Linked DNA regions of Homo sapiens: all the other regions are linked to region 1. The links are contacts of gene promoters, found by promoter capture Hi-C in human tissues and cell types (Jung and others, 2019). All regions are on one chromosome and are shown on one strand. Each heading gives the region's core, a stretch centred on a gene start or on the middle of the fragment in contact. The rest is flanking DNA. Distances are from core to core; before and after follow the strand shown.

Region 1 (3,022 bases), core at 139-2,638:
TAAGCTCAAAATACATCACCCAGTGGACACATTCACAGATCAACCACTGACTAAAAAAAAAAAAAAAAAAAAAAAAAAAACTCACTGGTGGATAATCAATGCCTCGCACAAAATCTGCACATGCATGTCACAGGCAGTGCAAAAGTTTGAACCACACACTCAGAGATCAGTAACAGGAAGTTATCGCCATCTACAGACTTCCCCTCACTTTTCAAGGGAGCGAGCCAAGGATTTCTGCTTGAAAAATATAAACTGGCAAAACTGACATCAGCTGTTGAGCTGCATTATACTCCTCGTGATGAAATCCACTTTAATAACCTGTCCAAAACCCTAAACACGTTACTTCTTTAGAAACGGGAAAGCAATCGTCCGTCCCAAACGCTTCTTAACTGTAGTCTCTGAGATGAAAGATTGATTCACAAGTCAACACCACATCACTTTCCGTCTATCGGGCTAAAGAGCTAAATGCATACAGATTTAAAGGCAAAGATGTATACTTAATTTTTCTTCTTCATTTTCCTTGTCATTAACCACTTTCCCAAGGCAGGCTTTCTGCAGAGTTGAATAACGCCCAATCCCAACTAAAATGCCAACTGTGGGGCCATGCCAGTGGAACCGGGCAGGAGACAGCGACTCGCCCAGGAAGCCCAGGGCTGAGTCGGGGAAGACCTATTCCAGCGCTGCGGGCAGCGGTGCCCGGCGGAAAGCGCAGAGTTTGCCAGCGGGTGCGCAAAGATGCAAAAAGCACACGCCCTGCCCGTCCACCTGGTGAACACCTCGGGAACTTTATTTTGGGAAGAGCCTTCCCAGGAAACTTTTCTCCCGCCCGCAGCCCTTGCCAGAGTCCACCGGGCCGCGGGCCAGCAGGAGAAGCAGGGAGCCGCGGGCCGAGGGGCTGCCGCGGGCCGAGGGGCTGCCGCGGGCCGAGGGGCAGCCCGGAGCGGGACGCGGCTCGGCTGGCCGGGCTCCTCTCAGGGCCGGGGAAGGCGCGGCGCTGGACCCGCGGGGAGGCCACTCACCAGCCCGAGCGCGAAGAAGACGGCGAGCAGGGCGAGGCAGGAGCCCATGACGATGAGCAGCAGGAAGACGATGAGCGGGTGCTGCTGGCTCATGCAGTAGTAGGACTCGTAGAGCCAGTCCCGGGACCGCGGCAGCCCGTCTCCGCCGCCCGCCGCCTCCTCGGAGCGGTCCCGCAGGTAGCGGCGGCGCCGCATCGCCTCCTGCCACATCGGGGCCGCTCACAGGGCGCCCGCCGTGCGCGCCCGGCCCGGGCAGCGCCGCTCGCCGCGGCCGCCCGCGTCCCACCCCCGCGCCGCCTCGGCCGGCCCGGCTGCCGGCACCCGGAGCTGCGCGCAGGGGCCTCCGGCGCGGGCGGAGCTCGGCGCCCCGGGCTGGGCGCGCTGACGCGCGGGCGGGGGCCGGGCGGCGGCCTCGGGGGCAGCTCCCGGCGCCGCCGCCGCCACCGCCACCGCGCGGGAGGGGGCGGGTTCCACGGGGCCCTCCGCCCGCCGCTCCCCGCCCCGCGCGCAGCCGGCCTCCGTGCAGGGGCGGTGTCGGCCCCCACCCGACGGCCCGGCTGCAGGCTGGGGACGGCGGGGGCTGTACGGTGGGGGGAGTGGCGAACTGAGGGGCTCCCGCTGCGCCCCGGCCCGGGGTCGTCCTCGCCCGCCGGCCTCCCACACTCAGCCACCAGGTCGTCCACCTCCTCTGCCCTATCCCGAGTGCAGCGTGGGTGGGGTGGGAGGGACGGCCCTCCCCGCTACGAAGTGAGAACACAGCCTAAGGGGTGGAGGGAGGGAGTCCTACCCCCACCACTCCCCCCGCCCCACCTGGCTCGGAGCACTGCGGGGCTCCTCAGCTCCTCTCCACTACCTCAAGGTCAGCGGGCAGGGACGCTGCCACCCTCCTGTTTCCTCCACCCCTTAGTGGGCTGCGGGGCCTGCTCCCACCCTCCCCCACAGTCACAGAGCGCAGCCGGGGTCAGAGGACCCGGGGGGTCCCTCCTTTAGTACGCGGGTCAGAGGACAGCGGGGTCTCCCTCCTTTTCACTCTTTTGGGGAGCTGGAGAGGATTTCCCACCCTTCCCGCCTCCCCGCGGTGGGCACCGGTTTGCCGTCCAGCCCTTCTTCCCCTCAGCGTAGCAGGGTTGAGGGCTCCCCCATCCTCTCCACCCTCTTGAGAGGGCCGGGGCTCCCTGCGAGGGCGGCAGGGCGCGGAAACGCCAGGGGACCTAACTGGAGACCGGCACCATGTGGAAGTGAAGCGGCAGTGACTGCACTGGGAGCCCCCGCCACGGCCTCGCGGGGGCAGCGTCCGTTGCGCCCTGCACGCTCAGCTTCAGTCACACTTTGGAGGTGCCGTATAAGCCTGTCATATCACAGGTTTACAGAGCTGCCCCGTGGCTGGTCGTGGTCCTCGCCGAGCCCCTCTGCTGAGCGGGGATGGCGGCAAAGGGGCGCCGGGGAGAGCGGCTGGGCGCGGGAGCGGGCGGGTCGGCCCTGGGAGTAGCTCCCTCCCTGTCACCTTGGGGGCCTGGACGCAGGAGGCGCTAGAGACCCGGCAGGAGCGTTGTGGGGGCGGATGTCACCAGGGACAGTGTCCCCTCCCGACACGCGTGGGAGCGGAGGCCGCTGGCCTTCGCCCTGGGGGCCGAAGGGGCTTCATTGCTTATCACCAAAGGAACCCACCCTTCTGGAAGTTTCCTCCTATTCGAGTGTGGTCCGGCCCAAAGAGCCCCCAAATCCCACCTCCTCCCCCAAAGCCTTACCCCAAGGAATCCAAGGCACAAGAGCCCTCCCTTCTCCTGCCACCAGCGAGCATCCCAGAGGGCAGCCCCAGAGGGCTGTTCCATGCACTTTTCATCTCTTCCAGGAGATGACCAGCTCTCAGGACTCAGCCTTGTCACCACCTAAGACCTCAGAACCTTCTCGAATGGCCCCATGCCCCGCCTCCCTGGCTGTCCTGTCCTCCTCGCTGGCAGAGGGCATGTAAGCTAGGTAGCTGCGTTACCCTGAGCACAGGG
Region 2 (3,022 bases), core at 316-2,815, 480 kb before region 1:
CCAGAAACTTTTTTTTTTTTTTTTTTTTTTTGAGACGGAGTCTTACTCTGTCGCTCAGGCTGGAGTGCAGTGGCGCAATCTTGGCTCACTGCAACCTCCGCCTCCCGGAAAAAACCCATAAACTCTTAACAGATCTTCCGGCTAATTTAAAACTCCTAGTCAGATTAATGATTAATCTCTATCCCCGCTGCCATGAACTGATCCTGTCTGTGGTGCAACACTGCACTCTGCTCCCACCAGTCCAGGCATAAGTTGTGTCTGTTCCCAAACCAGACTGAGATACACTTACTGCAATTATCTCACTTAAACAATTCACAAAATAATGAAGTACAAGTGCAAAAACAATAGCCCATAGTTGTTTATACACAAAATCATACTTACATGAAAGCTTTAGAAAGACATTATAAAAGATGCTAAAAAAAATTGCTATCATACCAGGTGTTTACAAACAGTGCTAATATACAAGAAAGATGCTGCATCCAAATTATTTCTTAAATGTCTAAATCTGTCTTCATTAAAAAAAACAAGAAATTAAAACTGGTAATAGCTGCAGTAAGGGTGTGGTTTTTGTAAGAAAAGTCCATGTGGAACTCCAAACAGCCACTCAACAGAAAGAGGGCTTAGCCCTGCATTCAAAGACTGCCTGCTCTGGAAACTTATTTTAAGCAGGTTAGAAAAACTTCAGGGTACCATACACTGCCTGTGGGGAGAAATTAGCTATTATGCAATGTGATACTCAACTCACTGCCCACACAACTCATCTCTGTTTGACTCATCTAAAATGAGAAACCAAGTTGTTAGTTCTCCAAAATAATGATGAAACTGAGTTCTTATCTACTTCTTCAAATACAGAAGTAATAATACAAGACCTTTTGTAATACCTGGGTGGGAAAACTTTTACTGGAAGGGGCCAAATGCCTTAGGCATTGCAGGCCCCTGTGGTAACCACTAACTCTGCTATTGCAGCTCAAAAGCTGTCATAGACACTACCTAAATGAATAGGCATGGCTGTGTTCCAGTAAAATCTATTTACAAAAGAAAGGCTCTGGGCCACATTGGGCCAGTAAGCCATAGTTTGTTGACCTCTCTTCTAATGTAATAATAATTTAAAAGCCCAAAGCAAACATCCATGATTAAATAGCATCTATAGCATAAAGAAAAACTTCCTTACCTGGCCAAGAGACTCCTGCAGATGTACCTGTAAATATTCTGGGGGTAAACCAGGAATATTCAGAGAGGCTTGTGAGAGTGGGGGTACCGAACGGGTAAGTGAGGACTCAAAGTCTTCAATTACAACATTGGATTGGTTGCTGTTCACTGCATTTTGCTTCAAAACCTCAGAATCCTTTCTTCCTGAATCATCGAATCTCAGAAGCTCGACTTGAGATTCAATGTGTAGCAGCTCTGACTTCACAAGGTCTGTCCTCGAGGATGCAGGTGATGCCACCGGGAGTGCGCCACTTATCTCCTCTTGTCCTCTGCTTGACCTAAAATGCTTTCTGAGGGCTGGCCAGAGTCCAGCAATCCACGGCTCAACCACAAGTTCTAAACTGGACAGTAAAAACAAACGAAAAACAAAACAAATGCCTAAGTTCTCCATCTGAACACAGAACAGGATAATGACAGTCTGTCCATTTGGCAAAGTATGCACTTGTTAGAAACACTATGAAGACCATTCGGAATACAAAAAATACTTCATGATTAAGTTTTAACAAGCAGGATATATTATGTGTTCATTAGCACCGTAGCTGAAAACATGAGTATGTATAAAGGTAGAAGAAATGAAGAGGGATAGGAAGATATTCTAGTAATAGGATGACAGGAATAGAATTCCTCCTAATATTCCAGAATTGGTAAACTTTATTTTAAGAAGATATAATTTTAAATAGGCATACTAATGCTAACAGAACTTAACCAAAATCCAAGGCTACCATAATGCTGCAAATGCTCATTCCATCCATCAAATGCACCTTTTTTTTTTTTTTTTTTTGCCTAGCCAATTTACTGATCTACTGATCTGTTTCCTACAGATTAAAATATCACCAAGAAATCACTATGGATTAATGCCAAGTCCTTGGACTAAATAAATAGTTAAAGCCTTTATTTATTTTTTTATTTTAGTAAAATTCCCAGGGAGGCTGACAACAGGAGAAAAAAAAAGCAACCCTCCTTTGGGAAAGTTGAATTCATCATAAATAGATTTTTTAAATGTGGCAGTCCACCTACTACTAACAAATTATCATAACAACAGCCATTCCCTGAACAGAGAAGTTTAAGTAGAGTCAGTGGATAAGACTGTGGCAGGGCTGTGGAAATAACACCACTTTTAATCACAGCTCAAAGGAGGATCAATTAAATTCTAATTCCTAAAGCGAAATGAATACCAAGAGGAGGCAGATTTCAGGCCCGTGTGTCATTATGACTCAGGTTGTCATTTCACTGTGCTCGGGAGGTGCTCATGTGGTACACTACTCAAAATGTGGTTACACATTAGAGCTGCCCTGAGGAGCCTTTGTGAAAACAAGTTTATAAAACTACAGTTCAACAATAACAGCTACATGTAAAATATCACTCTCACAACTCAGAAATATTAAGGTGATAGTGTGCACAACCAGGAGGAGAACTAACGTTCACTGAGTGTTTACTACATGACGACAGGCACTCTTCTAAGAGGACGACATGTATTAATCCGTTTGACCCTCCTACGAAGCTTACACAGTAAATAGATTACTGTTATCTATTGCACAGAGGCAAAAACCAAGGAACAAAAAGCTTAACTAATTCAACCAAGATCTCAGTCAGTAAGTGGGGGATCAAGGATTTGAACCCAGGTATTGGACTCAAGTGTGCATTCGTAACCCCATTTAGTGTGGTGGCACATCAAGCAAGAATGTCTTGAAAATATCTTCATTTCAGAAAAAGGAAAAATTCAAGTAAGGTAGTTAGGTTGAAAATCTAAGCACTATAGTCTACTGAAATATACAGTCAAGCATTTCAATACTTACACCAATAAATCAACAGA
Region 3 (3,022 bases), core at 204-2,703, 460 kb after region 1:
ATGTATTTTAAAAGCATAAAAATAAACCTAAGACAAATTAATGGTATTCAAGAAACAATGAGAAGCATAGAAATTGATTACATAAGTTGACTGACCAAATTAACCTTTAAGCATTTTAAAAATTATAATAAGAAAATATTGACAAAAATTAAAAGGAATATGAAGGGAAGAAAAATTCAGAAATCAGAGGAGGGAAAGTTAAAGCATACTGAAGTCATTGTATTTCTTAATAAAACAAATAAAATAAGAGTAAATTTGGACTGTATTAGAAATTTTATATTGATGTGTATGTCTTCAAAAGCTAAAGAAACCTTTGAAGGAATAGAAAGGTAATCTATAGTTGCCAAGCCAGAAGAATGAATGAACCAAAGAAAACTAAATCGATCCAGTAAAAGACAGAAATAACGGGAAGAATTTTTTTAAAAATAAGGTTAACAGAAAACACAAAAAAGAGTTGATACTTATAATCAAACAATGTTAGTATGGACTCCCAAGCAGACCTGAGACAAGAACTTGGGCCCAGGTAGTTTATTTGAGTGATGATTCCAACAAGCATGGTGAGAAAGGGGAAATGTGATCAACCTAATTAAGGTGCACCAATGAGCGGGTTAGCACTTGGGGCACCTGTGGCTCAGTCCCCAGAGGGTCCCTCTGAAACCGTGAGAAACAAACTGCAGCATCGCCCATCAGATTGGGGAGGCATTCATGCACCGACTCACCATGGTTGCCTCTGTGTGGCTCCCTATGAAACCTCCTGATTTCACAATAAACTTGTCCATGGCACAGCAAGTTTCTGCAGCACCTGAGAATGTCCCCAAGCAAAAAGGAGGGCTGACTCCACCACTGTAGAAAGAGATGTCAGAACCTGCATGCAGGAGAACTCACGTGGGCAGAAGGGATGGACAGCAGCAGCAGTACTTGCTACAGCCCATACCAGGACTGAAGCTGCCTACTGAAAGACAGACTGCCAGATTGATTTAAAAGAAATAGCCATATGCTGTTCACAAGACACTCCTAACAAAATGACACGAAGTTACAAATGATGGGGCTGGCAAAAAAAAAAAAAAATACACTGGAGAAAAATCCTCAAACCTGGATGTAGGAATATGCACAATGGTGCTTGCTGGAGCAATGACTGTAATGGCAGCAAATCAAATATCATTACCTCCACCAAAAGGGGAAGAGCTAAAGGCATTGCAGGATAGTCATATAATGGACAATACACATCATCTATACCCAGAGTATAAAAATTAATTGGGAAAATCAAGTAGAAACACTGTGCCAATCTCATCTGGTCAACAGGACTTAGAAATGGTAGAACTGAACATGTATATAGATAATTTATATTTCAACCTGACTTCTAATATCATTTAACATTTTGGAACTCTGCATACACTACAAATTTATGACTAAATATATTACTAATAAATTTTCCCTTCAAGTGATTTGCCATCAAAAGTTTTTCAATAAGAAACAGAAAACTTTTTAAAAAGATATTAGTAGTCTTTTATTTAAGAATTATATACACAAAGATGTTCACTGTCTTTACTAATAGTTAAAACTTAAAAATTCTACATAACTAAATGGTTGCATGTTTTCAAGGGATGGCAGCTATGAAAATGAAGCTTATTATAAGGGGAAAGTTTATGAAATAATGTGCACAATATGATTCTAATTACATTTACAGAGAGACAAAGATGGAAATTTAAAGTAGTAAAGTCAACCTAGGATGAAGGAAAAGAATTCAATGATGGGCATAGAAACAGATTAAACACATTGATAAACCTAAAAACCTACCATTTCCCATAGCACCAAAAAAGAAATACGAGTTTTACATAAGCAGAAGATTTGCAAGATTTCTATGCTGAAAACCACAAAACACCAAAGTAGGAAAAAGTTCCTGAATAACTGGAAAGATACACCATATTCATTGATTAGAAGGTTCAATTTTCTTGTCAGTTCTTTCCCAAATTTATCTTTAGATTCAATGCAATCTCAATCAAAAATGCAGCAGCAGAATTTTTGTTGAAATTCATAAGTTGATTATAAAATTTATACATAAAGACAAAATAACTAGAATGGTAAACACAATTTTGAAAAATAAAGAAGAACCACTTTTAAAACTCACCATGTCCTGATTTCAAGACTTACTATAAAGCTACTTTGATCATGATAATGTGGTATTAATGAAAGGGTAGACACACAAATCAATGGAAAAGAATAGAGGGTACTAAGACAGAGCCCACACAGACATAAACAAATGATTTTCAACAAAGTTGCAAGGATAATTTCATGAGGAAAGAATACTCTCTGCAACAAACAGTGTTAGAACAATTGGGCATCTATATGCAAATAAATAAACAAAGCTGACCTATGCGTTGCTCCATTTATAAACACTAACTCAAAATTTAAACCTAAAACTATACAATTCTTACAAGAAAATGCAGGAGAGAAAATATTTGTGACTTTAGGAAAAGATTTCTTATACAATTCATAGAAATTAAACAACTTGCGTCTGAATCACTTTCAGGTAAATAATGAAATTAAGGTAGAAATCAAGAAGTCCTTTGAAACTAATGAGAACAAAGATACAACATACCACAATCTTTGAGACACACCTAAGACAATAAGGCAGTGTTAAGAGGAAAATTAATAGCACTAAATGCCCACATCAAAAAGTTAGATAAATTGGCTGCTAGCTAGACTAATAAAGAAGAGAAGATTCAAATAAATACAATTAGAAATGGCAAAGTAGATGATACCATTGACCCCAAAGAAATACAAATAACCATCAGAGACTATGACAAACAACTCTATGCAAACAAAGTAGAAAATCTATGAGAAATGGATAAATTCCTGGACACATACACCCTCCCAAGACTGAAGCAGGAAGAAACGGATTCCCTGAACAGACCAATAAGGAACTCTGACATTGAATCAGTAATAAATAGCCTACCAACCAAAGAAAAAACCTACAACCAGGTAGATTCACAGCCACCTTCCACCAGATATATAAAGAAGA
Region 4 (3,022 bases), core at 375-2,874, 460 kb before region 1:
ACTTACTTAAGGTCTAAATAAAATAGTACCTGGAACGTAGGAAATGCTCACTAATTGTTAGCTACTACTATAACCTAGGCTTGTACTGTCCAAATATAGTAGCCACTAGACCATGTGGCTATTTAAATTTAAATTATTAAAAGTTTAAGAAAATTCAATTCCTCAGTCACATTGTAAGTGCTCAGTAGCCACATGTGGCTCATGGCTGCCAAATTGGACAGCACCATTATAAAGATTTCCACATCACAGAAATTTCTCCTGGACAGCACTGACAAGAGACTCCAAGTCCTCCGTCCTTACAGTTCTTCTAACTTGATGAGCAGAAGAAAGCCTTCTCGTAAAGGACAGCAGTTCATAGGCTTCAGATGGTCACTTCTCTTCTCTTTACGAAGGGAACTGCAGTTTACCAGAGGGGAAGGACAGTTCGGAAGCCTTCCGTGCTCGCAGACCAGGTGTCTGGGTGTGGCATGCTTTCTTTACTTACCATGGAGGCACTGCAAGTTGGAATGATGGAAGTTATGAGTTGCACAGATGTCTAATGTCTTAACTCAAGGGTTTTCTTCACAGTCTGGATTGAAGGATCTCTGCCACCTATCATAAGGGGAAAGAGAAAGCATGCATGGTTCTTGTCATACCCCAGATAACTTCAGAACCCATTCTGTGGTTTAGCGTTATTGAGCTTTCTTAATTTAAGGCTGACTTGATTGATCATAAAGCCAATTGAATTAAAATTCTCACCATTGTTTGGTTGTGGTCATTACTTTGCAGCCTTCAGTCCAATTGATCAATGCAAGGTGGAAGGAATCAAAGCAAAGCAAAGGAATGAATACAGGAAGATAGTGTTTGTGAGGGTATCACACGAGGAATTTTTCCTTTCTTCTCTCACCAGATGTTGAAATTAAATTAGATGAAGAAGGATTTGTATTGCCATCCACAGCTAATGAAGATATCCATAAAAGGTACAGGAAAATGTTGTGTTTTTCACATTACAAGACTCGTTGAGGCTAATAAGCAGCGGTATCTTTTTCTCAAGAAGGTGAAAAAAATAGATATGATTCTGGAAATTAAAATACTACATTTCAGAATACCATGTTGGGAAATTCCTTGTAATATTTTATAAACATTAATATTAATAAGATCAAATTCATGATTCATTTGAAAATAATATTGGCACATAGTAATAGCCAAATCCCAAATAAACTTTGGCAACTAAAATATATAATAAATATTTTGGATTATTTAAAAAATTAAGTATTTTTCTCCTTTTTTATTTTTCAGGATAGCACTGTGTATTGATGGTCCAAAAAGGTTTTGCTCCAATAGCAAACACTTACTGGGGAAAGAAGCTATTAAACAAAGACACCTACAGTTACTCGGTTATCAAGTTGTTCAGGTACGGTTTCACCTATTTTTTTTGTTTCCCAAAAGCAAATCCTATTTCAAAATTATTTTTCCAGGTTACTTTTAAAAAGTAATCTGAGGCACAGTAAAATTTTAAAGAATTTGATCAGGCAGCAATTATTGAACTGGACAGCACAAAACTCGAAATGGCTTGGGAACCCAAGAGGGAGGCTTTTATAGGAAGAACACAAGTACACAAAGAATCTACTTGACTGGTTACAGTTACATATTCTTGCTGCCTTGTTTGAACTATTCTGTGGAAAGTTCCTAGTTATATAATTATTAGTTTGTGAGATGCTTCTGATTGGTTGAGCTTAAGTTCTGTTTTTCTGTAGTAGAAGCTTCTACAAGAAATAGCCCAAGTTAAATTTTGCTTAACATTTGCACTTTAAGCAAAGTTAAGGTTATTTTCAAGGCCCAACTGGCTTGGTCTGCTCAGGGATTTTTCAGGCACAGGCTCCATTTTAATTTGCTTTTACAGTACTAACTGGTTTGCCAGCCCAGTGGACCACCGATCTTACGTCTAGTTTAAATCCCAACGTTGTTAATTCGGCTTAAATCTCTTGACTTATATTTTGAAATACAGAATTTTCAGAGCTTTGATTTTTCAAAAGTGGGGCCTACCTATATTCATTATAAGCTATGCTTAACCCTGCTTTTAGAATTACTCAATTGTTGGAATATATGTTCTGTTTTAATTTCTCCTTGATTTAATAAATAAAAATGAACAAGATAATCCATTAAAATAAGGAGCTTCACCAACACTTAATATTTAAGACCTTTTAAATATTTCACTGTAGATAATGTAAGAAGGTCTTATGTGAGGGCTCAGCAGTGCGTGAGAATGAGCGCTGCCCTAATTCTCTAAGCTGTCAGTACTAGGCAGCACTGTGGTTTCATATCTGCTGACTTTTTTCTCCATCTTGCACATCCCCAGCTGAATATTCCTAAAACTAATCATGCCAGTGTCTACTCAGAAGCTTCAATGTTTCTTTACTGCTTACAGAATAAAGTAAAAACTTCTCTACATCTTAACATTCAAGACCCTCCAATGGTTGGCCTGCAGCCAGGCTGCAGGCACATGATTACTACCTGGCCCCTCTGCTCCCAGCTGAGCAGACTCTCTCCTTTGCTGCGCCTCCTGCTCTCTCCCTCTTCATTCCCTCTTTGTCCCTGCTGCGTCCTCCAGCTCTCTGAATACCTACCTTCCAGCAGTTTGTCGGCATCCCCACCCTCATCTAATGAAATGCTCACTCCCTCTTAGCACTAGATCACCAACCTACAGCTTGTTTTTTATATTTATTGTGTAATTTAACTTGCCACCCAAGTTGTGAACTCCTGGAGAACAAGAGATCATGTTTAATTCTTATTTGCATATTCTACATATTAATTCATCAAATATTTACCAAGCCCCTTCTCAGTGCCAGGCACTGTTCTAGACATTGGGGATACAGGATGAAGAAGCTGGTTGGGATATTTGCCTTCCAGGAGCTTACATTCCGCTGTGGGGAAGCGTGTAAGAAACAAACAAAGTAACCAATAGCCAGAGGAACCTCAGATTTTGAAGGATCTTGACCAGTTTTACTTTTCTACCTTTACAGATCCCCTATCATGAGATTGG
Region 5 (3,022 bases), core at 292-2,791, 440 kb before region 1:
CTTCTTGCCAAGTGTGTTTGCCTGGGCTACCATAAAATGTACCACGGACTTGGTGGCTTAAAACAACAGAAATTTCTTCTCTCTTAGTTTTGGAGGCTAGAAGCCTGAAATCTGGGTGTCACCAGGATTTTTTTTTTCTAATTTCCAACTTTTAATTTGTGAAGGATATGTAGGTTTGTTACATACGTAAACGTATGCCATGGTGGGTTGTACAGATCATCCCATCACCCAGGTAGTAAGCCCAGCATCCATTAACTATTCTTCCTGATCTTCTCTCTCTTCCCACGTCCCGTCCTCTGACAGGCCCCAGTGTGTGTTGCCCACCCCCCATGTGTCCCTATGTTTTTATCATTTAGCCCTCACTTGTAAGTAAGAACATGCGGGATTTGGTTTTCTGTTTCTGTGTTAATTTTTTAAGGATAATGGCCTCCAGCTCCATCCATGTCCCTGAAAAGGATGTGATCTCATTCCTTTTTATGGCTGCATAGTATTCTGTGGTGTATATGTACCACATTTTCTTTATCCAGTCTATCATTGATGGGCATTTAGGTTGACTCCATATCTTTGCTATTGTGAGTAGTACTACGTTGAACATACGTGTGCATGTGTCTTTATAATGGAATGATTTCTATTCCTTTGGGTATATACTCAGTAATGGGATTGCTGGGTTGAATGGTATTTCTGCCTCTAGGTCTTTGAGGAGTCGCCACACTGTCTTCCACAATGGTTGAATTCATTTACACTCCCACCAACAGTGTAGAAGCATTCCTTTTTCTCCACAACCTCACCAGCATCTGTTGTTTTTTGACTTTTCAATATCCATTCTGACTGGAATGAGATGGTATCTCATCGTGGTTTTGATTTGCGTTTCTCTAATGATCAGTGATGTTGAGCTTTTTTTCATGTTTGTTGGCCACATGTGTGTCTATTGAGAAGTGTCTGTTCATGTCCTTTGCCCAATTTTTAACGGGGTTTTTTTTTCTTGTAAATTTGTTTCTTGTAGATGCTGGATATTAGACCTTTGTCAGATACATTGGTTGCAAAAATTTTCTCCCATTCTGTAGGTTGTCTGTTTATGCAGTTCGTAGTTTCTTTTGCTGTGCAGAGCTCTGAAGTTTAATTAGATACTATATGTCAATTTTTGCTTTGTTGCAATTCAGCCGGATTGGTTCCTTCTAGGGGCTGTGAGGGAAGGCTCTGTTCCAGGCCTCTCTCCTTGGCTTGTTGACGGCCATCTTCTCCCAGTGTCTCTTCACATCACCTTCCCTCTGAATGTTCATGTCCAAATTTCTCCTTTCAATAAGGACATCAGTCATATTAGCTCGGGGGTCTACCCTACTCCAGTATGACCTCACCATAATTGATTATATCTTCAATTACCTTATTCCAAATAAGGTCACATTCAGAGTTCCTGGGGATTAGGACTTCAACATGTGAATGCTTGGAGGACACAAGTCAGCTGACCACATCCAGTGAGGTTGTTCGGCAGTGGTTCTAAGTACAGCAGTGTGGTGCAGTCTCCCATCTCACCTTCAGTCACCTGCACTTCCTACCCTCAGCCCAAGCAATTGCCCATCATTCATTCTTTTCTGCTACTGTACTTTGTGCACACCTCTCTTATTCCATTTATATTTTTCTGTGGTTCATAACTAATGGGTTAATTTCTCTTCTCAGTCTGTGGTCTCTTTTAAGGTAGGGACTCCCCATTTCTGTCCTGGAGCCTGGCATAGTGTCTTGCACAATAGTAGGCCTAATGTGCTGTGGAGGTTGAAAACTGGAGGCCTCCACTCTACCCACAGCATCTGCCCAGGCCGCCTGTGGACCAGAGCAATTTCTCAGGATCAGGGGTGGAGGTCACTGTGAGGGAAACTGAGGGTAGGTGATCAAGCACCATGACCAGGCTAAGGCCATGCTACATTTTAACAATATTCAAAACACAAAGGGAGAGATCACAAGGTGAAAAATGGATATTTTGTTTTGCTTTTTTTTTAAAGGAACATCATCTGTGAAATAGAGACAATTCCTTGAGGGATTTTAATGGCAAAATTTCAGTAATTTCAGAAGCTCTGTCTTGTGATAGCATCTAAATCCCAACTGGTTTTTATTAGTATCATCTTGCTTCAAGCCATACGAGAATAAAAGAAAAAAAAAGAAAGATTAATAATTAAAATCCTGGGAAAAGACAGATTTCCAGTTTGATTAGTTATTGAAAATGGATAGTCACATTTCAAAGCGAGGCTGCCTGCCTGCTGATGAATTTATTTTTTTTGGTCCTTATTTTTCAATGATAGAAAAATTCACTTTTACTCTGGAAAGTTCTGAATATGCAAAATCTGCACAAAAATAAGCTTCCTAAGACTCTGATCACTCCACACCCACAAGCAGTGAGATTCCTAGTAAACACTAAGATGTAGAAGACTGTTGGCAACTAATCCAGGGATTGTGAGGCAGGCATGGCTGCTCATAGTGGTTACTTTTATAGTGTTTCAGGAGACCTGATTAGAATGAGAAGAAATAGGCATTTTCTCTGTAAAGTTGCATATTACACTGGGCTTCTTCAATATAGGGAACAAAATGAATGAACATATCCTTTCTCATTCTGATAACAGTAATTGCATTCTCATTCTATTCTTAAGTCCATTCTTCCTTCTTCAGAGTTTTTCTCCCAGGATAATCCAAGCACCCCAGTGGGGGCTCACTCAGTTCAGGAGGGTTGGACCTGATTAAAAGCACTGTGCAGAAGAAAATACAAGACCAGGCAGCCACTGGAGGATCTATTTTCCCTGCTGTTCGTGCCATCCACTCTGAGGGGGCTGTCCCTCAGACCTGGGTGATATGGTTTGGCTGTGTCGCCACCCAAATCTCATATTGAATTGTAACTCCCACAATTCCCATGTGTCGTGGGAGGAACCCAGTACAAGGTGATTGAATTATTGGGGTGGGTCTTTCCTGTGCTGTTACTGCGTTAGTGAATGAGTCTCATGAGATCTGATGGTTTTAAAAAGGGGAGTTCCCTGCACAA
Region 6 (3,022 bases), core at 245-2,744, 390 kb before region 1:
TATCCTGGGCCACCACCAGCCTGGCTACAGGGCAGGGGAAACATGGGGACCTTGCTGAATTTAAAAATGGGCTGGAGACTCCTGTTAACGAGAACAGAGGGCCCTTTAATAGACATTGTAATTTTATTACCTGTGATCAATAGGAAAATCAGGTGCTGAAGAACCCACCAAATGTAGTAAACACCAGGAGAAGAGATAGGAAAGCCAGTGGGCCATGAGACTTGTTGTGTAGCCCTGGAAGGCCCACTGTGCCCTGAATATTTCCAGGAAGATGGGAGTGGTGATGTCTAGCACCTCATCTGCCACCTGGCACCTTCTTCTTAATGCCAACTTCAAATCCGCTACAGAAAAATACTGTTCCAAGGCTTCTCACTGCAGGTTGCTTTGTGTTCTGGTATCATCCAGGTTGAGCTTATCCATTAAGGAGTTCATCCATCTACAGGTGACCCCCACCTCTTTTGCGCATGCACTCCCATGCCTCAGTGAAAATGTCCTAAGAACAGGGGTTACACCTCTGAAAAAAAAAATCTCAGGACCCCAAACTCACTAAAAGTTAAGCTTGGGAACTGAGTCATGCAAGAAACTACCTGCTTTTTGTTCCCACACGGATGGCTGCAACATAGAAGGGCCACGGAGCACCCCAGGTGGCCTCCCTCACAACTGCTCAGGAAAAAATTCCTTGTGGGCCCTGAAATCTTTCAGAATAGACACCCCCCCAAAAAAAAACTGACCAGAAAACAGAGTTCTGTTGACTCTTATCCTGGCAATGCAAATTAATAGCTGATCTTCACAGGTACTGGACAAAGACAAGACCAGAAATCATCCCTCGGCTCAAGCAGAGGAAGGCATAATGGGCTTTTCCTGACTCCTCTCTTTTCATATGGAAAATGTGGTTTCAATGAGCACTAATCAAGCCTCACAAGAATGTAACCATCTCTTGTCTACCCCGTTTCTCTTTTTATTCCTTTTCCTCCTTCCCCTACTGTCCACTCTTTCCCCTTTCAGTATTGGAGTCTTCAAAACTCTCTTTGGGAAAAGCACAGGCCAGGAATCCTAGTGTAACTTGTGTTTCTTTTTCCTGGGCACCATCCTCAACCTTGGAAAATAAACTTCTAACTTGATTGAGACCTGTCTCAGACACTTCTTCGTTTACACATCTCAGACATCTGGGAAACACCACAGAAATGAGCGCAGGGCTTTGCGTACTGTGGATGCTCAGATACATGTTTCTCACGTTAAGTCCAAATGTAGACATATCTGCTTTCTCTTGCACTTCAGCAATATTAAAGACATCTCACAACATCTCTTCAAAACCCATTTCAATATTTAACTGACATTGTAGTCTTTGCAACTCTAGCTAATCCATTTGGATAAACACTCCATGAAATTCCCATTTCTATCCACTCTAATGGATGGACTCAAGTCTTTGGTCTGCTCTTGTGTAGATAACTCCTAAATCCTGTCACACTCACTGTGTATCTGATATCTTTGAAATTCTAAGAGCCTTGGAAGGCTGTCAGGGAAGCTGAGTGTGGGGAAACAGGGGGCGTGTGGGAGGCATGGTTTAACGTTGCCTCTTGGTTTGAGCCTCCATTGCGTGCTGGTAAGGCAGGCCTCCTCCCACAATGGGGAGAGAGCAGTGGCTTCTTTGGAGGCATATTTGGGATCCTAGTGCCTCATAAAAGACATTCAGAACTTTACATGATTGGGGAAAAAATCTCTAATAATGAATCCACCTCCAGACTCAGACTTTTAGAGGTCATTCTAACCCACTATTCTCAACGGATATCTCTACAACCAATCAATATCTCCTTGAAAACTGAACAATTCAAGCCAATCTTGGCCAATTTGAACACTCAGATGTGTGAAGTACTGCAGCCTTTATGTCACTGAAGAAGCTTTCAGCCCTCACCCAGGTCATCATGGCATCCAGCCCCCTCCCCCAGCCCCCAGCCCCCCTGGTCTGACCTCATTCTTCAGGCTCCTGGCCAGGAAGTGCTCAGCCACGTGCGCGGGAAGCACGTTCTCCAGCAGCACGCGGTTCAGGTTCTCCATGGTCTCTATCTCCTCCCGCTCTTTTTTGAATTTGTTCTTCCATAAGAAGTCTAACCTACAGTAATATTCATTCTGTTACAAGAGGACACAGAGGTAAAGAAACAATAGGCATCTTGTCCTGCCAGAGAGTGGAGGTTTTAAAGAGAAAACAAAAAGAACAAAATGAAACCGAAAAAAGAACCCCCAAACAGAACTTCCACCCTCCCCATAAAGCCCTCTGTGTCCCTGAAATGTCCTTCAGTCAACCTCTGACATGGATTTGCAAAAAACAAGAACCAGCCTCAGAAACAGGGAAATCAGCTATATGGAGGCTTAAATTCAAAGCGCCATTAAAGCTTCCTGCAAAGTTATGCTACTAAAAGAGGGCTCAAATTATTTTTTGAAAAGAGGCAATTGTAGAATATAAATGATGAATACATGAAAAATACCTCTGTAGAGAGAGTGCATTTTTTGATGATTTGAATAAAAACTGTATTGTTCGTTTATGGCAGTTTGCCTTTAGCATTTGTAAATTAGTTTTTCCCTAACACAAATTGTATAATTATGTAATCATTGCAAAATATGGATTTTTCTTCCACTTGGGATTGTGCTGTTCTGACAGAATGCCATTCGTTACATTTAGAGAAAAGTTCATTTTGATATTAATTAAGATAGTGCCTGTTAGTAAAAACCTGTGTTCATGCTTTATAATGTATTAAAATATAATGTATTTTAAAAGTAGTTATTACTAACATTGTAGGAATGGAGAGGCCCAATTACTGACAAAGAGTCTTTTGGGTCTTGGCATCATTTTGTGCCTCCTATGATGTAAATACTTTAATTTAATCATGAAATAGTCTTGAATGGATCTTCCTGTAATAGAAGGGCTTAGTGGAGAGTGTGTATTTCACACAGATAGTCACTTATTGACAAATAAATGCAAAGAAGAGCTAACTGCAAGTTTTTGGTTTGCTTTGTTGAGTTGATT
Region 7 (3,022 bases), core at 317-2,816, 300 kb after region 1:
TGGGTGGAAATATAGGATTAGGTATAGAAATAGGAGTCAGCACTGAGTGACACACTCTTTGCTTTTTATATCTGAAGAGCCAGATCGCCTTTGCTATTTATTCTATTTATAAAACTTGCTTCTAGTGAAGTCACTTTTAGTACCTGCTGTAAATTGGAGGTGGATGATTTCCGGCACTGTCACCTCTCTGAACAATCAGGAAAGTCTCTTTGTTACAGCTTTTAGACAAGGAGAAGGGGCAGTCAGCACAACAAGAGGCATGGCTTGGTGGGGCCCGCAAGTATTACGAGGGTTTGCATGAACAAGTCAGCCAACACAAACCACGGAGCTTGCATCTCGTACCCAGTCCTAGGCTAGAGGCTGATGCTGGGAATTGGAGAAAAATACAGCTGATGGTCTTTAGCCCGAGGGAGTGCACCAGTTCACAGGTGAAGGGGTTTCCAAGGTGACTGTGAGTGACGGACATGGAATTCCAATCAGAGGAGTTCTGTTTACATCTCAGGGGAGCTGAATGTTGAAGTTCTGTTGTACTATACTTATAATATTTTATACTGTTGCTATAAAATCTATTTATTACTAATTAGAATATTATTTTAAACATCTATAACCTGTGGAGATCCTGCATGAGCTATTAAAATTATTAACTCTGTTTTAAAATAGAATTTTTAGTTACTGGGACATCAATAAACAGCTTCTTAACTGCTGGTAACCTGAGCAATAAAAAGCTAAAATAAATAAATATAATCTAACAATTAAAGAAGATAAAGGAGACAGAGCACTCGTTTAAGAACACTTTACCTATTTATAATTATTTTCATCAGACAGATTGTCAGATTTTTTGTGGTCAGATTTGTTTTTAAGAAATTGGATTTAAGTGGAGTCTCAGCCTCTACCACCAGTGTTGTCAGGCATGTATTTACGTGTGTATCTGCATGTGTAGGTGTATATGTGTGTATGTGTATCTGTGTATGTGTGCATTGTGTATGTATATGTGTAAGTGGGCATATGTGTGTGCATCTGTGTGATAATGGGTATATGTGTCTCTGTGTTGGTATGCATGCATGTGTATGTACGCATGTGTGTGCATGTGTATTTGTATGTGTGTACATGTGTGTCAATGTCTGTGTGCATGTGTGTATGCACATGTGTGATTGTTGTGTGTGTGTTTGTGTGTGGGTATGCATGCATGCATATATGCATGTGTGTATGCCTGGGTACCTGTGTACATTTGCATATGTCTGTGTCAATGTGTGTGTATGTGTGTGTATGTATATGTGTCAATGTGTGTATGTGTGTGCACATGCAGTTCTCTGCACTGTGATCCCATATGTGACCACCACCACAATCAGAATACAGAACTGTTATGTCACCAAAAAAGGCATTCCTCAGTGCTGTCCTTATAAAGTTGCACCAACCCTCAACTGTGTCCCTGTCCCCTGGCAACCACTAAGTGGTCTCCTAGTTAGATTTGATCTTAACTATCCTATTTGGCCCACCACACTGCCTTGGTCTTGATAGAAAATCTCAGCTAGAGACTGCTTAGCATCCAGATGAATTAAACATTAAAGAAAAATCAAAGTGAGACAGGGTAACCATCTAGAAAACTAAAGAAGGTAACTCATTTACTTTGCTGTTCTTTTCCTTTTTTTCTGGTAGAATACATTTTGGTTGCTCTTTTCTGTAAGTGCAGAAGGTAAGCTCTTCAAAGAAAATGTAAAAGGAAAAGGTCAATTTATAGAAAAATATAACAGTACAATTTCATTTAAATTACAAACAAATATATTCTTCAATGCTTTAGCAAAACACCTATCTTAAGGATGATAACAAACATTATTCTCATAACTTAACAAGAGTTTCATAATGTCATTATTCTCCCAATTGTTAGAAAAAACTCCAAATTCTGATCTGACCCTCAAGTCATTCTTATCAAAATCACTTCTTACCATTTTCAAATAACTACATAAGAAGTTCCTAAGGGATGTTTCAGCATTTGTAAACCAAAGAACCAGCTTGAAACATCTGGATATTTGTAATTAAGTTTATAGTTTTAAAAGTGTTTTCACGCAACTGTTTGGCAAGCTTACATTTCTGAAATATAATTATTCTTATATAATATTTAGATGGTGGTTATATGGTTACTATGTATATGTACAATAATAATATAGAACACATTTATGTTAATGTTATATAACACATATTTAAATATAACTTATATTACGTAGTACTAATGTGTATATTTTATATATAATACAAATATGTAATATGTCATTATTAAATACAGTACAAGTATATATAGTGCTATGTGTAGCACTTACTATATATTATTATTTATATATTTTTATATGTAATATGAGCCATTCACAACATACGAATTTGAGAACATTGCTGTATATTTGCATTTTGCATTTGACATGTGAAAGGATATTCAGGTAATCAGCTTTGCAAAGTGACACCAAAGGCATTTAACAGGAGAACAGACCTTGCATTTTCCACAGGGTACTGAGCACCTGAGTGTGCAATTAGTATGCGTTCATTCAGCTTTTTGATTGGGTCTGTTGGGGCCACATCTTACTGCTTTCTGGATTCAAATAATGTCCAATCACAGTGCCTATTAGGTGTGTAATGAATGGACAAGTTGGATAAATGGTGGTTAAAATATTTCTGCTGAAATGAAAAACAATTCAGTCTAAAGATTGGCGGGGTGCTTTCTCCTGTAAAAGCCTTGAGGTTTCCAGTGCAATGTGAAAGGGGTAGTGACACATTTGTCACTTGTCACTGTCCTTGGTGCTGACCATGGCTCATTCTGCTGGTCCCAACACTAACGCCTAGCAAAGATGTTTTATTTGGGCCCATTTTCTAATAGAAACTGTTGCTCCTTGCAACTGTTCTGGACTCGTAACCATGAATTATGTACATCATTGAGGCTAAATATTTAATTCAGTCTGACTACACTAGAAAGTGCCTTCTTACTTGTTTTCTAATATTTCATTTTAAGAATATTGAAACAGAAAGACAAATACCC

The links. The method cuts DNA at HindIII sites, captures the fragments that hold promoters and counts their contacts. A contact is called where the count stands out against the background at its distance.
Region 2: a fragment that was not itself captured here is called in contact with the fragment with the promoter of ADCY2 in region 1 in 1 of the 25 tissues and cell types used here (hippocampus).
Region 3: a fragment that was not itself captured here is called in contact with the fragment with the promoter of ADCY2 in region 1 in 2 of the 25 tissues and cell types used here (heart left ventricle and mesendoderm cells).
Region 4: a fragment that was not itself captured here is called in contact with the fragment with the promoter of ADCY2 in region 1 in 1 of the 25 tissues and cell types used here (H1 embryonic stem cells).
Region 5: a contact is called between a fragment that was not itself captured here and the fragment with the promoter of ADCY2 in region 1, in 1 of the 25 tissues and cell types used here (dorsolateral prefrontal cortex).
Region 6: a contact is called between a fragment that was not itself captured here and the fragment with the promoter of ADCY2 in region 1, in 2 of the 25 tissues and cell types used here (bladder and dorsolateral prefrontal cortex).
Region 7: a fragment that was not itself captured here is called in contact with the fragment with the promoter of ADCY2 in region 1 in 1 of the 25 tissues and cell types used here (dorsolateral prefrontal cortex).

The regions. Positions count from the first base shown.
Region 1 is chr5:7,394,504-7,397,525 of GRCh38, reverse strand. It overlaps ADCY2 (adenylate cyclase 2), which reads right to left and starts at 1,388. Exons shown (of 25, transcript NM_020546.3): 1 at 1,020-1,388. The coding sequence starts at 1,229. LOC107986403 (a long non-coding RNA gene) reads left to right here and starts at 1,577. Exons shown (of 2, transcript XR_001742597.2): 1 at 1,577-3,022. RefSeq lists enhancers at 1,307-2,072, 2,073-2,838. The HindIII fragment of the contact is 8,449 bases long and covers 1-3,022 here.
Region 2 is chr5:7,876,472-7,879,493 of GRCh38, reverse strand. MTRR (5-methyltetrahydrofolate-homocysteine methyltransferase reductase) reads right to left here. Exons shown (of 15, transcript NM_002454.3): 5 at 1,172-1,550. Among named protein-coding and RNA genes, the nearest start is that of MTRR, 8.8 kb to the right of the region's middle. The HindIII fragment of the contact is 4,993 bases long and covers 1-3,022 here.
Region 3 is chr5:6,931,602-6,934,623 of GRCh38, reverse strand. No RefSeq gene overlaps it. Among named protein-coding and RNA genes, the nearest start is that of LINC02196, 100 kb to the left of the region's middle. The HindIII fragment of the contact is 4,609 bases long and covers 1-3,022 here.
Region 4 is chr5:7,859,520-7,862,541 of GRCh38, reverse strand. FASTKD3 (FAST kinase domains 3) reads left to right here. Exons shown (of 7, transcript NM_024091.4): 5 at 890-959; 6 at 1,279-1,393; 7 at 3,003-3,022. It also overlaps a transcript of MTRR not described here. Among named protein-coding and RNA genes, the nearest start is that of FASTKD3, 8.0 kb to the left of the region's middle. The HindIII fragment of the contact is 6,566 bases long and covers 1-3,022 here.
Region 5 is chr5:7,839,101-7,842,122 of GRCh38, reverse strand. The region is part of intron 1 of CFAP90 (cilia and flagella associated protein 90); the gene reads left to right. Among named protein-coding and RNA genes, the nearest start is that of CFAP90, 11 kb to the left of the region's middle. The HindIII fragment of the contact is 6,768 bases long and covers 1-3,022 here.
Region 6 is chr5:7,788,747-7,791,768 of GRCh38, reverse strand. ADCY2 (adenylate cyclase 2) reads right to left here. Exons shown (of 25, transcript NM_020546.3): 20 at 1,969-2,127. Among named protein-coding and RNA genes, the nearest start is that of CFAP90, 61 kb to the left of the region's middle. The HindIII fragment of the contact is 4,487 bases long and covers 1-3,022 here.
Region 7 is chr5:7,094,591-7,097,612 of GRCh38, reverse strand. The region is part of intron 1 of LINC02196 (long intergenic non-protein coding RNA 2196); the gene reads right to left. Among named protein-coding and RNA genes, the nearest start is that of LINC02196, 60 kb to the right of the region's middle. The HindIII fragment of the contact is 3,716 bases long and covers 1-3,022 here.